2 separate regions of the Homo sapiens genome follow, and region 1 is linked to region 2. Evidence: promoter capture Hi-C in 16 types of primary human blood cells and fetal thymus (Javierre and others, 2016). All regions are on one chromosome and are shown on one strand. The core of a region is centred on a gene start or on the middle of the fragment in contact, and the rest is flanking DNA. Distances in the headings are between cores, read along the strand shown.

Region 1 (6,677 bases), core at 3,968-6,467, 8.6 Mb before region 2:
CTGCAATGTTTTTCATTTGTCTAACTTACTTGAATACTGGATACTTTTCAGATGGTGCATTTATTTCTCTTCTCCTAAGAGATGACTTTGGTTCTATTTCTTTCACTCTTTCTGGCTTTTATCCCCACTTTGCATTCTTCACCCTTTAGTAAGACAACCCTGACAGGTCTCTTCTTTAGCAGCCAGTGTCCCTCCTATAGGATTCATAGTAACAATTAATAGTATTCTGACATGGGTTCTTCAGATAGTAGCTGCGAAGTGAACTGCTTTAGTTGGAGTCTTTTTCTCTGCTTTAATTTCAGCCACGCTTTGACTTCCAAATGCTCAATTCCTCACCCATCTTTCCTTTTTCTTTTTCTTTTTTTTTTTTTTGGAGACAGAGTCTTGCTCTGTCACCGAGGCTGGAGTGCAGTGTAATCTCAGCTTACTGCAACCTCCGCCTCCCAGGTTGAAGGGATTCTCCTGCCTCAGCCAAGTAGCTGGGATTACAGGCACCCGCCATCGTGTGCGACTAATTTTTGTATTTTTAGTAGAGATGGGGATTTGCCATGTTGGCCAAGCTGGTCTCGAATTCCTGACTTCAAATGATCTGCCCGCCTCATTCTTCCAAAATGCTGGGATTACAGGCATGAGCCACCACACTGGCCTCATTTTTCAAATGGCTAAAATCTTCAAGATTTCTGGCTGATTGGTATTTTAGAGGCAGCTTTGATGTTTTGTTTCTGGGTCTTTGGAATAGAGTCTTGGGCTTTCGAAGATTTATGGAGGCTGTTGGACAGAGACAGTCTCCTGAAGAGTTTCTAGCTGTCCTCCCATCTTCTCTCTGCCTTTAGAAATCCTTCTTAGATGTGGCCGGGCACGGTGGCTCACGCCTGTAATCCCAGCACTTTGGGAGGCCGAGGCGAGTGGATCACGAGATCAGGAGATCAAGACCATCCTGGCTAACATGGTGAAACCCCGTCTCTACTAAAAATACACAAAAAAATCAAAATTAGCTGGGCGTGGTGGTGGGCACCTGGAGTCCGCAGGAGAATAGTGTGAACCTTGGAAGGCAGAGCTTGTAGTGAGCTGAGATCGCACCACTGTACTCCAGCCTGGGCGACAGAGCGAGACTTCATCTCAAAAAAAAAAGTCCTTCTTAGATGTTTTTAGTTGTTTGTTTATTTTTCGAGATGGAGTTTTGCTCTTGTTGCCCAGGCTGAAGTGCAATGGCACGATCTGGGCCCATTGCAACCTCTGCCTCCCAGGTTCAAGCGATTCTCCTGCCTCAGCCTCCTGAGTAGCTGGGATTACAGGCAGCCACCACCATGCCCAGCTCATTTTTGTATTTTTAGTAGAGATGGGGTTTCACCACGTTGGCCAGGCTGGTCTCAAACTCCTGACCTCAGGTGATCCGCCCGCCTCAGCCTCTCAAAGTGCTGGGATTGCAGGCATGAGCCACTGCGCCCAGCCTGTTTGTTTGTTTTCAGATAGGGTCACCCTGTCAGCCAGGCTGGAATGCAATGGTGTGATTGTGATCACAGCTCACTGCTGCCTCAACCTGAGGGCTCAAGTGATCCTCCCACTTCAGCCTCCTTAGTAACTGGGACCACAGGGGTGAGCCACCATGCCTGGCTAATTTGTTAATTTTTGTAGAGATGGGGTCTCCCTATGTTGCCGAGGCTGGTCTCAAACTACTGGGCTTAAGTGATCCTCCTGCCTTAGCTTCCCAGAGCGCTGGGATTAAAGGCATGAGCTGCTGTGCCTGGTCAATCCTTTTTACATGTTTGAGGAAAAATAAATGTCCTGTTTTCAGGCTAAGATCAAGTAATAATCCTCATGTGTTAGGAAGCATGTGACATGGATTTTTGCAGCAGAGGGTTAGAAAGGAACTTTCTTTATATACTTGGCCCCCTGCATTTCAGGGCTCCACCGCCATCTGTCTGTCTGAGTGTAAAGTGGACCTTATTGGCATCTGGGCTGCCAAACTGCTTTTTTTCCTTTGCTTTGCCCAGCCTTCTCTTGAAGGCTAAATTCTTGAAAAATTATATTCTTTGTGTTCCTATAGTAAATATTAAGCTTTATATCAACACATATGGCAGGATCTGAGGCTCTTTACTCACCTCTGGTCCATTTCTCTAGTCTTTTCTCTGTAGTCTTTTTGTTTTCCTGTCCTCCATCTCCTAATTTATTAGTTTTATTATTATATTTTATATTATTTTTTTGAGACAGAGTTTTGCTCTTGTTGCCCAGGCTGGAGTGCAATGGCGCGATCTTGGCTCACTGCAATCCCTGCCTCATGGGTTCAAGTGATTTGTCTGCCACAGCCTCCTGAGTAGCTGAAATTACAGGCACGCACCACCATACCTGGCTAATTTTTGTATTTTTAGTAGAAACGGGGTTTCACCATGTTAGCCAGGCTGATATTGAATTCCTGACCTCAATTGATCCGACTGCCTCGGCCTCCGGAAGTGCTGGGATTACAGGTGAGCCACAGTGCCTGGCAGTTTGTTTTATTTTGGTTGAACAGTTACAAGTCTTGGTTTGTTTTCCTGCAGCAACAGGTTTATCTTGATATGATACAGCGTTATTTAAATTCCTTTTCATTTTCCTGCCTTTGTCTTCACATGCTAGTTTTTTTCAGTTGTTTCTTTTTTCTTCTTCCTTTTCTTTTTTTTTTTTTTTGAGAGATAGTCTTGCTGTGTTGTCCAGGTTGCAGTACAGTGGTGCGATCTGGGCTCACTGCAACCTCTGCCTCCTGGGTTCAAGTGATTCTCTCACCTCAGCCTCCGGAGTAGCTGGGATTACAGGTGCCCACCACCACGCCTGGCTAATTTTTGTATTTTTAGTAGAGACAGCGTTTCACCATGTTGGCCAGGCTGGTCTTGAACTCCTGACCTCAATTGATCTGCCTGCCTTGGTCTCCCAAAGTGCTGATTACAGGTGTGATCCACCGTGCCTAGCCTGTTTAGTTGTTTCTAAGAAGGGAGATATTGGTTTTGATTGACATAGTTCATCCACTTATTTACCAAACACTTGCGAAGTGCCTACTATATGCTGCCTCCGAATAGGCAGGTTCGTCCACAATAGCACAAGGCTCCTGCCACTTGTCTTCAAGGACAAAGAGACATCCAGACAAACAAATGTAATAAACAAATGGGACATGATTGTAGCAGAGGCAGATGCATGGTGGAGGGAAAGTAATTTTGTCTGGGGAGTTGAGAAAAGCTGTCACTTGAGCTAGATCTTGAATGAATAGGAACTCATGAGGTTGAGTGGACAAACAGGAAGGGCCAACAGCAGAGGTATGGCATGTACAAGATGCAGAGCTCTGCCTGAAAAAGCCTGGTGTGTTGTGAGTCTGGCAGGTGTTTGAAGGCTGATGTGGCTGGAGGCTAGTGCCTGTGAAGCAGGTGGTGGCTGATAAGATTGGAGAGGCAAGCTGTTATCCTCTTTATGCATGCAGAAGGAATTGACTTCAGGCTGGGCACAGTGGCTCATGCCTGTAATCCCAGCACTTTGGGAGGCTGAGGCGGGCAGATCACCTGAAGTTAGGAGTTCAAGACCAGCCTGGCCAACATGGTGAAACCCTGTCTCTCCTAAAAATACAAAATTAGCCGGGTGTGGCGGTGCACGCCTCCTATAATCTCAACTACTGGGGAGGCTCAGGAAGAAGAATCGCTTGAACCTGAGAGGCACAGGTTGCAGTGAGCTGAGATCGCGCCACTGCACTCCATGCTGGGTGACAGTGTGAGACCCTGTCTCAAAAAAAAAAAAACAAAAAACAAAAGGAATTGACTTCAGCCATTTGGAGCCATGAGGATCTGTGAGTGAGATACTGTGTCATGTTGGACCATCTCAAAGACAGCTTCTGACCCCACAGTTCTCAACCTTGTTCTTACTTATTTTTAGAGACAGGGTCTCGCTCTGTCTCCTAGGCTGGTATGCAGTGGTGCCACCATGGCTCACTGCAGCCTCACAAACTCCTGGACTCAAGTGATCCTCCTGCTTTTGCTTCCCTTGAGTGTTGGCATCTCATGGGACTCCAGGGGCACATCACCAATTACAGATGATAATTTTTTTTTTTTTTGAGACGGAGTCTTGCTCTGTATCCCAGGCTGGAGTGCAGTGGCGCGATTTTGGCTCACTGCAAGCTCCGCCTCCCAGGTTCACGTCATTCTCCTGCCTCAGCCTCCTAAGTAGCTGGGACTACAGGCACCCGCCACCACGCCTGGCTGATTTTTTTTTTTTTTTTTTGCATTTTTAGTAGAGACGGGGTTTCACTGTGTTAGCCAGGATGGTCTCGGTCTCCTGACCTCTTGATCCACCTGCCTCGGCCTCCCAAAGTGCTGGTATTACAGGTGTGAGACACCACGCCTGGCCTTTTTTTTTCTTTTTTGAGACAGAGTCTCACTCTGTCACCCAGGCTGGAGTGCAGCCGCGCAATCTTGGCTCACTGCAACCTCTGCCTCTCGGGTTCAAGCGATTCTCATGCCTCACCCCTCCAAGTCTGGGACTACAGGCGTGTGCTACTATGTCCAGTTAATTTTTGTATTTTTAGTAGAGATGGGGTTTCACCATGTTGGCCAGGCTGGTCACGAACTCCTGACCTCAAGTTATCCGCCACCCTCAGCCTCCCAAAGTGCTGGGATTACAGGTGTCAGCCACCACACCTGGCCTGTTAGTTTTTTTGAGGCAGAGTCTTGCTCTATCACCCAGACTGGAGTGCAGTGGCCCATTCTTGGCTCACTGCAACCTCTACCTCCTGGGTTCAAGCGATTCTCATGCCACAGCATGAGAAGTGGGATTACAGGGATTAGTAGGTGGGATTACAGGTGTGAGCCACCACACCCAGCCAGGCCCAGATAATTTTAAAATTTATTTTTTTATTTATTTAGAAATGGAGTCTCACTATGTTGCCCCGTCTGGTCTTAAACTCCTGGCCTCAAGGAATCCTCCCTCCTTGGCCTCCTAAAGGGCTAGGTGACAGGCATGAGTCACACTGCGCCCAGCCTTGAGCTTTTGTGCTCGAGATATAGTCCATTCAGAACCTCTGGTTGGCACTTCTTATCTGGCACATGCAGGGCACCTTGGATCTCTTATTATCTTTGAGCACTGGTCTGAACCCACTTGCTTGCCTTCTCCCAGGGGCTGCCCCGTGCACCCCTTGTTCCTAGGGTGGGGATGGGGTTGGATGCCTGGGGTTGCAGAGGGGACTAGCAGAGGGTGACCCTTTTCTCTATGCTATTACTTCAGATCTTGGCTTTTGCTTTCTTCCAAATACACAGCAATCTTGGCTTCCAGCCTAGGTGGGAAAGGGAGAAAGAACCGATTTCCTCCAGCTCCTCTCTGAAAGTAGCCCAACTGGCACTGTTTAGGAACAAGGAGTTCCTGAGAGTGTTGGCACCCCACGGTGTTGATGTCCGGTAGTTCCCTGCTGTGAACCCTGTCTCTGCCCCACTTCAATCCAAGGACCCTGTGGAGGGAATTCTAGGCTTCTTCAAAGCCTCTGCAGTACCAGCTGCCTCCAAGGCCTAACATAGTGAAGTGATAGGGAGACAGGACCTTGGGGGAGTTTGGGGATAACTGTGGGAGTTCCTGCAAGGTGGGTAAGAGTCTGGCCATGGCATCTTCTGGTCTATTCCACAAAAAAGGTGGATGCCTCTGAGACCTAGCTCTGTTATGTTCATTACAGCCCTATCAGTCTCTTCTGGATGTCTGATTCCTAGCTGCCAAACATCCAGGTGCTAGCAGCTGGGGGTGGGGTAGGATAAGAAGGGGGGTGTCTACCTCAACCTTCCTGCCCAAACCATTCATTTTAAAGTACTGTGAAGAAGGCTGGATTAGTGTTAAATTCAATAAAGTTAACAAAGCAAAGTATTGTAGTGAGTACACAATAAATAGTTGCTGCATGAGGAATTTCTTGAAATGAATTCAAGATGAGTCTTGAAAAACGAGTGGGAGTAAGCCGTGCACGGAAGCAGAGGTCTAGCAGAGGTCTAGCGCCAAGTCCCAGAGGCCTGAGAGGGCAAGCCTTGGTGGGGGAAAAGGCAGAAGTTGTGACTGGCTGCCTCTGAGAGTGCAAGTAGCCATGCAAAGTTGGGAAAACCAGACGGCGGCCGGAGCCGTGAACCAGGGGCAAATGGAGGATGGTGTTGGGGTAGTCACTAGCCTGCCGGAATGGAAGAAGAGGGGCGTTTGGGGGCGGTAAGGCCTAAAGGACACTGGAGGGGCCTCGGGATTTGGGGCAGGATCACAGGCCTAGTCCACTTAAAGGTGGCTCCGTGCCAGGCCTTCCCAGAATCAGGTTGAAAAGAACTTTAGGGTTAGACAGGTTGGAGATGAGAAATTGGACCATGCAGGAAGTACTGTCGGAGGCGTGTTCCTGACTTTACTACCCTGAGCCGCCCACGGCTGGGGCAGTCCCCGAGGTTCCACCTTAAGGGGCGGGCCGGGGCGGGGCTCCGCTGCCCCTTCCCAGAGGCCGCGCCTGCTGCTGAGCAGATGCAGTAGCCGAAACTGCGCGGAGGCACAGAGGCCGGGGAGAGCGTTCTGGGTCCGAGGGTCCAGGTAGGGGTTGAGCCACCATCTGACCGCAAGCTGCGTCGTGTCGCCGGTTCTGCAGGCACCATGAGCCAGGACACCGAGGTGGATATGAAGGAGGTGGAGCTGAATGAGTTAGAGCCCGAGAAGCAGCC
Region 2 (7,114 bases), core at 2,016-4,515:
TAGACTCTCTTCCTTGGACCCTGCAATCACCTCCCACGTGACCTTGCTATGGCTGCTCTTGCTAGTCTCAGTTCATTCTCCAAACATGGCAGAATGCCCCCCCTCTTACAGCACAAGCTGGCTCCTGCCTCCCTCCTACACACCACTCTCCCCTATTCTCCTTTGGCTCCAGGAACACAGGGGTCTTCACTCATCCTTGAACACAGTTTAAATTGTCTGTGGCACTGACTTCCTCTGCTTAGAGCACGTTTGCAGGTGTCCTTGTTCAGGGCTCATGTAAAATGTCCCCTCCTGGGGAGATCTTCCCTCTCAGCCAATCTGAAGCAGCTGCTCCCCAGCTTCCCTGCCAAGGCCCTCCACTGGGTACTTTATTTTCTTAGTAACTCTCCCCATCGCCTAGAAGTATTCATTTGTGTGTGTGTATTGTCTGTCTCCCCTCACTAGAATGTAAGCTTCCCAAGGGCAGGAATTGTGTGTCCTCTTCATTGTTCTACTACCAGGGCCTAGAACAGTGGCCCATGTAGGACCATCAATAATCACCCTTCAAAAAAAAGGGGAAGAGAACACAGAATGTCTCTAGGTACCCACAGCTGCTCTACATGGTTATAATTTGGGGGAAGCAGTGACATCCCCACTTCCAGAACAAGTTCATAACTGTGAAGCTTTAAAATATCTGAGATTTTTTAAAAGATGCTCTTGAAAGCTTTTAGAGAAAAAACAGGAGTAAAAATCACAGTAGGCTTAGATTTCTCAACAGCAAGCTGGATTCTAGAAGACAATGATGAAAAACTTCAAAATTTTGAGGAAAACTTTTTGCAACCTAGAATTCTACTCCTATGTGAACTATTACTCAAGGACAACAACATAGGATCCAGGAAACTGGAGACCCAAGAGAGCTGCTGAAGCCATGTCCACAAAAGGGCAGGGGCAAGTCCCAAGAGGACAGCTATGCAGCAGGACTAACCAGAAACCAGTCCACATTGGTACAAGATGAATGGCTAGGAAAGAGAGGAAATGAAAATGATGAATTTTGTTGCATCTGAATGTGTAGGAAAATTATTGATATATGTGACAGCTCGGTTAGAGCATCCAGAAAAAAATGAATGAGAGATGCATAGAAACCTTACCAAATGAAAAAAAAAAAAAAAAAAAAAGGAAGGCAACTGTTAACTCCAGGAAAAATAAAAAGTCATATAAGGAAGGAAAAAAAGAAACCAAGCCATTATTATAGGACCTTACTTGGCTCAACAGTGAATAATGGTAATTTTGTCATAACAATGTATACTCTGACTATTTATTGACTATTGTATGCACAGAAGGGAATTTGCAAAGTTAGGGGTACTAAAAGGAAATTACTTAGAAACAAGTAGGTACAAACAACAACACAAAAGTAGCTGAAAGAATGAAAAGTGTTTGCTGCTGGCAAGCAAGACTGTCGGATGTGGGATGTGGTAGAGAGTATTTCTTCTGAAGCCTTTTAACACTGATTTTTAAAAAAATGTGTGCATGAATTACTTTAATAAAAATTCACACACATTTAAAAAATTTCAACGATGAAAGACATTTTCCTTATGCAGTGTGAGAACTTCAGTACCCGCACTTCATTCAATTTACACAAGTTAGTTTATGCAGTTCCTATGATGCACAAAACAAGACGAAGAGTTCTTGATAGGAAGAGACCGTGTCTCTCTCCGGCCCCAAATACTGAATACAGAGCCTGGCGAGTGCCAGTCACTCTCCTTATATCTGTAAAATCAAAGTGGATGAAAGAAAACTACTTCTGAGAAAAGCTGACACGCTAGTGAGTCTGATCTCAAGATCACAGCCACCTGGACAAGCTGGCTTGCTTTAGACAGTTCCTCTCCCCCAGGCTCTCATCAAGGTAAGATACAAGCTTAGTTTCTTCCCAGCCAAAACTTACCAGCTCAGTGCCCCCACTCCCTCCGATCCCTAGTTCCCACACTGACTGGTGTTAATCCAGACCACCCACATGCACACTTGCCTTACAGGAAGGCTAAGTAGAATGGGGTGGCATTCGTCTTGCCCCAAGCCATGGATAAGCTACAAGGGGACAATGCCTGGTACCAACATTATCAATTATGTAAAACACTGGGAAATTGCAAAAGGGTCAGGGGATGTGTAACCTCAGAACTAAAGTGTGAAAAAGCCACTGGGAGAATGTTGTCAAAAGGGATTAAAACAAGACCAAAGAAGTACTTTTAGCTTATTACAGAGTTCATTCACCCAGGAGTCAGCTCTTTAGCCACAAGCATTGAGTTGTGCAATAAACATCTAAGTAACATCCTTCCCAATAGACGGCTGGGAACAGACAAAGGGGAGGTGCCCTGGTATGTTGTATTTTACTCATAAGAGGCACAGACAGTCGTTGGCACTCGAGAGCTGGTGGACCAGTCTGTCTGTACTTTCAACGCTGTGAAGCCATAGCCTGCGCCCACGATCCAGGGCACTGAGATACACTTACCTCCAGCCTCTTGCCAAATAGTTTCACAGCAGAAGGGAACTTTTCCTTCTTGAACCGGCCCCTTAAAAGTTTCTAGACACCTGTGCTCCAAATGCCTGCTTGATCCTTCTCAACCGGCTAAAGTCCTGCAAGGAACACAAAAATGAATAAGACCGCAGGCAGCTGACATTTCAGGAGAGGGCAGAAGCTCAAGGCCCACAGTAGGAGTCAAGCAAGAGGCAGAAGGTCCAGTGCTCAGGGCTTCAACAGCCGCATGTCAGGGAGGACGGCGGACAAGCCAGTCCCATCGCAAAGCTGCTGTGCCTGGCTCAGCACTGACAAAGAGGGAGGCGAACAACAGGTGGGGCAGGAGAAAGAGCCGCCGCGGAGCGCGGCATGGGGCCAGGAGCCGACCCCGGAGCCAGGCAGCCTTCGCCCGGGGAAGCTCCAGACAGCGCGGGGACAGAGCATCCCTCAGACGCCGGCTCGTGGGGGAGGGGGACTATCCACGCCTCCGCCCCGCCTCCCCGGAGCCCCAGCGGCCCCTCGCCTGTGAGCTGGACCCTCTCCCCACCTGCGCGCACGCCCCCTACCCCTGACCCCACCCTCGCCCTGTGAGTGGGCACCTGCTCACCTGGGCAAGCGCCCCCCACTGCGCACACCTTCCCCTGGCCTCACCTGCGCACACCTTGGCCACTCACCTGCGCACACCTCGGCCCCTCACCTGCGCCCACCTTCCCCTGGCCTCGCTTGCGCGCGCTGCTCCACGCCGCCTACCCTCTAGCCAGGGGTCGGAGTCACCCGCAGGGCAGGGGCGCCCGCCCCCGGATGATGTCAGCGATTGCCTGCCAATCGGAGGCGGACCCTGCACGCCCGGCGGCTCCGCGCCCCGTGATTGGTCGAGGAGCCTGAGCTGACTCCGGGCCCACCGCGCCCGCCATTCGGCAGCGGCCGGACTCGAGATTGACGGCCCAGGCCCCGCCCTGCCGCCCCACCGGCCCGCCCGGGCCCTAGTGGGTGGGCGCAGCCTCTGGCGCTTCTTCGGGATCCCAGCTGACCAGCTGGGGGTGGGGCGTGGCGGAGTGGCCACGTGGGCCGCGCGGAGAACGCGCCAGGCTCATCACCTGGATCATCGTGCCTCAGTTTCCCCCTCGGCAAATGGGGCTTCAGCGGCTCGCGACGCACATTGATGGAGCGTATGTCCAGGCGCCGGTGCACCGCAAGGAGCAAAACAGACACAGTTCTTGGTCCTAGGGCTCACGTCCCGGGGCGAAGAGGATCCTCCATAAACGATCAGGTAAACACATGGGTGTCAGGGAAGGCTCGCCGCTGGGAGACCGCCAAAGTGACCCGAGATGGAGTCTGGGTGGCCTGCTTATTAGGGGGGCACACCTGTGCGAGGACGGGAGGGGAGGGAGCAGCAGGACTGGGCAAAGGGAGAAGCTGAGCCACAGTGCGAGCCGGACGCACGGGCCACGTTGCGAGGGCATGACCTGGGGCGAGGCAGCCCTGGAGGAGGGGGCAGCTGAAGGTGTCTGCTGACCCCACACCCAACAGCTCGGGTAACAGGCCTTACTGTCAGAGCGATCTGGTTGCCACGTCTCTGTGGCCCTCAGAGAGACATCATGTTTTCTTTTTTCCCTGCACCTTTTTGTTTTGAAAAATGTTCAGCATACAAACAAGTTGAACGTAAAGTGAGCACGCAGATTCCTAGGTTCAGCAGGGGTGAGCAGCTGGCCACGTTTCATTTCTCTCCCTCTGTGTTTATATATGTGTATTTTTCTTTTTTCCTCCCCACTCAGCCCCCACCATTAGCTGCAGATACCGTGATACCCCCCTCCCAAATACTTCGGTATCCAACTCCTTAAGAACAAGAACCTCCTATATTACCAAAATACAATGACCACATCAGTTCAATGCTGTTATCTATTTTCCATCTCCAGTTTCCCGCGGTTGTCCCAATAATGCCCTTTACAGCCCTTTTGTTATTGTTGTTTTGTTTTGCTTTGTTAAGACGGGGGTCTCTGTCACACAGGCTGGAGTGTAGTGGCACGATCACAGCTCACTGCAGCCTTGAACTGCTGGGCTCAAGCGATTCTCTTCCCTCACCCTCCTGAGTAGCTGGGACTACAAGAGCACACCACCACACGCTATTTTTTTTTTGGTAGAGATGGGTGGGGGGGGGGGTCTCACTATGTTCCCCAAGCTGGTCTCGAACTCCTGGGCTCAAGCGATCCACCCACTGTGGCCTCCTACAGTGCTGGGACTACAGGTGTGAAGCTCTGCCCTACAGCCCTTTTTTAAACCCCAGGATCTAATCAGGGAGCCACACTGTGCATTCAGGCTATGCACTTTTTTTGGCAGGATAATATACTACATAGAGCATGTTTTATCTTGTTAGAAGGCTGTCAACCTGAAATAACCAAACAGGTCAGAATTTAGCTTAAAGAGAGTTTATTTAAGTGTATAAAGTTTGAGGACAGGCTGCCTGGGAAGCACAGATTTTAAAGAATGGAAATCAGTATTTTGAACTGTAGATGTTTGGGATCATTTATGTAGACAAATTTTAGGGAAGTTTAACAGAATTTTAACATCTTTTTATGCATAAAGTTATAATCTGACCAGCTGAGGTGGTCTTTTTTAGGTGGAAGGTATATTTAACATTTTACACTGAAGATGTAGGAGTCTGGTCTAAGTACGGGATAATAAGAGACAATCTATAATAAAGATCAGTAATTAAAAGGGGAGCAGGCCTGGTCTGTGGTCTCTCCTAGTCATTTATAAAACATGAATGATAAAGAAAAACAGCCTATAATCTAAAAGACAAAATTACAAACATGCTATGTGACCCAGTTTCTAGGACTTAACTTCCCTCTTGACATAATAAATTTATTTATTTTTATTTATTTATTTAAAGACAGGATCTTGCTCTGTTGCCCAAGTTGACCTAATAAATTTCAAGAGTCCTAAAATTTTCTTTTTTAAGACAACATATCACTGTGCTCCATGATTGATAGTGGGGCTCCGTGGTTTCTGCCAGAAGTCTCCATTTTTCCTTTTGTTATTAATGAGTAATTGGTGCAGTGATACTTTGAGACTGTAAATATGCTGTTCCCAAATGACCTTTCACCCAGTGAACTAGCATTTAATGAGGAATCTTGCCTGAATCCCTTATTTCTTGGGACAAAGTGTTAATTTTCTAATTTTATCATTCCCTCAACATTTATTAATAAATTATTTATTAGCAAGCATTCTTCTGTAGGGATTTCCTCTTTGATTTATTTTTTATCAGTATGCCCTAATGGATTTAGCTGACCGAGTTATGATCCTTACTGTATTGTCCTGTATTTAGCTAACGGGAGCCCCTTCAAATTGGCTTCTTTTTTCATATGACATGTATCTACCATCCTTTGAGTACTTACTTATTTTCTGGGACAACCAGATGTTCAAGGATCCTCCCCTTCTCTGCCCAGGCCTGGCATCAGCCATTGTTGGCAGGAGATAATTTGAGCAGATCGTGTGGATTTCAGAAGCATGAAAACTACTGTGAGGATTAAATAAGTTAGCATGTATAACATTCTGGTGCTTTTGTGGAGTTTCCAAATTGTCATGAACAAGCACTACTTTATAGACAGGAAAAAAAGTGATTCAAAATGTGAAAACGGGTATATGTACATAAGGTAAAAATAAAATCCTAAGCCCCCCATTGACCAAAGGGACCTTCTCCTGACCAAGGGGACACCAGAAAAACCTCAACACTGAATTCCCAGACATGATGGGATGGGAGGTCAGATGCGCCTGGTAATAGCCCCCTGTTTCAGAGTTTGGACACCACAACTGGCCGGCATTCATGTTAAAACAGAGATCGTAAGACTGACAGAACGGACTCTGTGGCAATAAGATACCAAATTATAAACAGGACCCAAAGCCATGCTAGGCGAGGGTAAGTCAGGCAACCCACACTTAGAGAATAAACTATATTCTAAGAGCCACAAGGCTTTCTGTTTCTCTATTAGCCAAACACACACTAGCCTTGGGATAGGGAATATTAAAACAATTGCAGCTCCACTAGGTGCCAACTAACTGACTCTGTTTCACCAGCCATAGCAGCTGTGATTGGACAAGAGACTGATTTCAGTGACTTTCTCCTAATAAGAGACCACCGACCAGCTGACCATGCCGACCAGCTGACCCGTTAATAGAGAGAGATGATGCACCTGCATGCCTTTGTGTCCTGAAAAGACGTTTTGCCATAAAGGCCCTAATTGTAAGATGTGTAAATGTTAAGTCTCCACCCCAAAGTGAACATGGGTCATATATTACATGCTTTGCTCAATAAGAGGGCATGTGTCAGGACCACCTTCATGAATATTCATAGCTCCTCCTGTTACCTGTTGAATATGTATGTTTAGCCAATCCCTTCAGCATAGCGCTCCTGCCCCAACCCCTCCTCCTTGGACGTGCCTGTCTCTGGCCTTGGCTGGAGACAGATTCCCAGCCTCAGACAGATGGCCGCCACCTTGCAGGCTACGACCGTTTACAAGAAATAAAGCCTTCTCTTTTTCCAAATTTGTGAATTGTGTGTTTTTAAACTAACATGAATGACAGAAGGAAGGATGGCCTCTTCAAGCAACGATGATGAGGCAGTTATTT

What was found. Contacts are between HindIII fragments. The CHiCAGO score rates a contact against its expected background, and 5 or more counts as called.
Region 1: a contact is called between a fragment that was not itself captured here and the fragment with the promoter of DHCR7 in region 2, in 1 of 17 cell types (neutrophils). The highest score is 6.0, in neutrophils.

Annotation. Positions count from the first base shown.
Region 1 is chr11:62,874,415-62,881,091 of GRCh38, forward strand. It overlaps SLC3A2 (solute carrier family 3 member 2), which reads left to right and starts at 6,482. Exons shown (of 9, transcript NM_001013251.3): 1 at 6,482-6,677. The coding sequence starts at 6,610. RefSeq lists enhancers at 5,804-5,853, 6,223-6,677, 6,504-6,677. The HindIII fragment of the contact is 6,323 bases long and covers 2,057-6,677 here.
Region 2 is chr11:71,445,128-71,452,241 of GRCh38, forward strand. It overlaps DHCR7 (7-dehydrocholesterol reductase), which reads right to left and starts at 3,266. Exons shown (of 9, transcript NM_001360.3): 1 at 3,163-3,266; 2 at 2,483-2,607. It overlaps DHCR7-DT (DHCR7 divergent transcript), which reads left to right and starts at 3,401. Exons shown (of 2, transcript NR_186309.1): 1 at 3,401-3,758; 2 at 6,563-7,030. RefSeq lists a silencer at 2,933-3,572 and enhancers at 3,298-3,799, 6,745-6,794, 6,915-6,994. The HindIII fragment of the contact is 9,377 bases long and covers 1,893-7,114 here.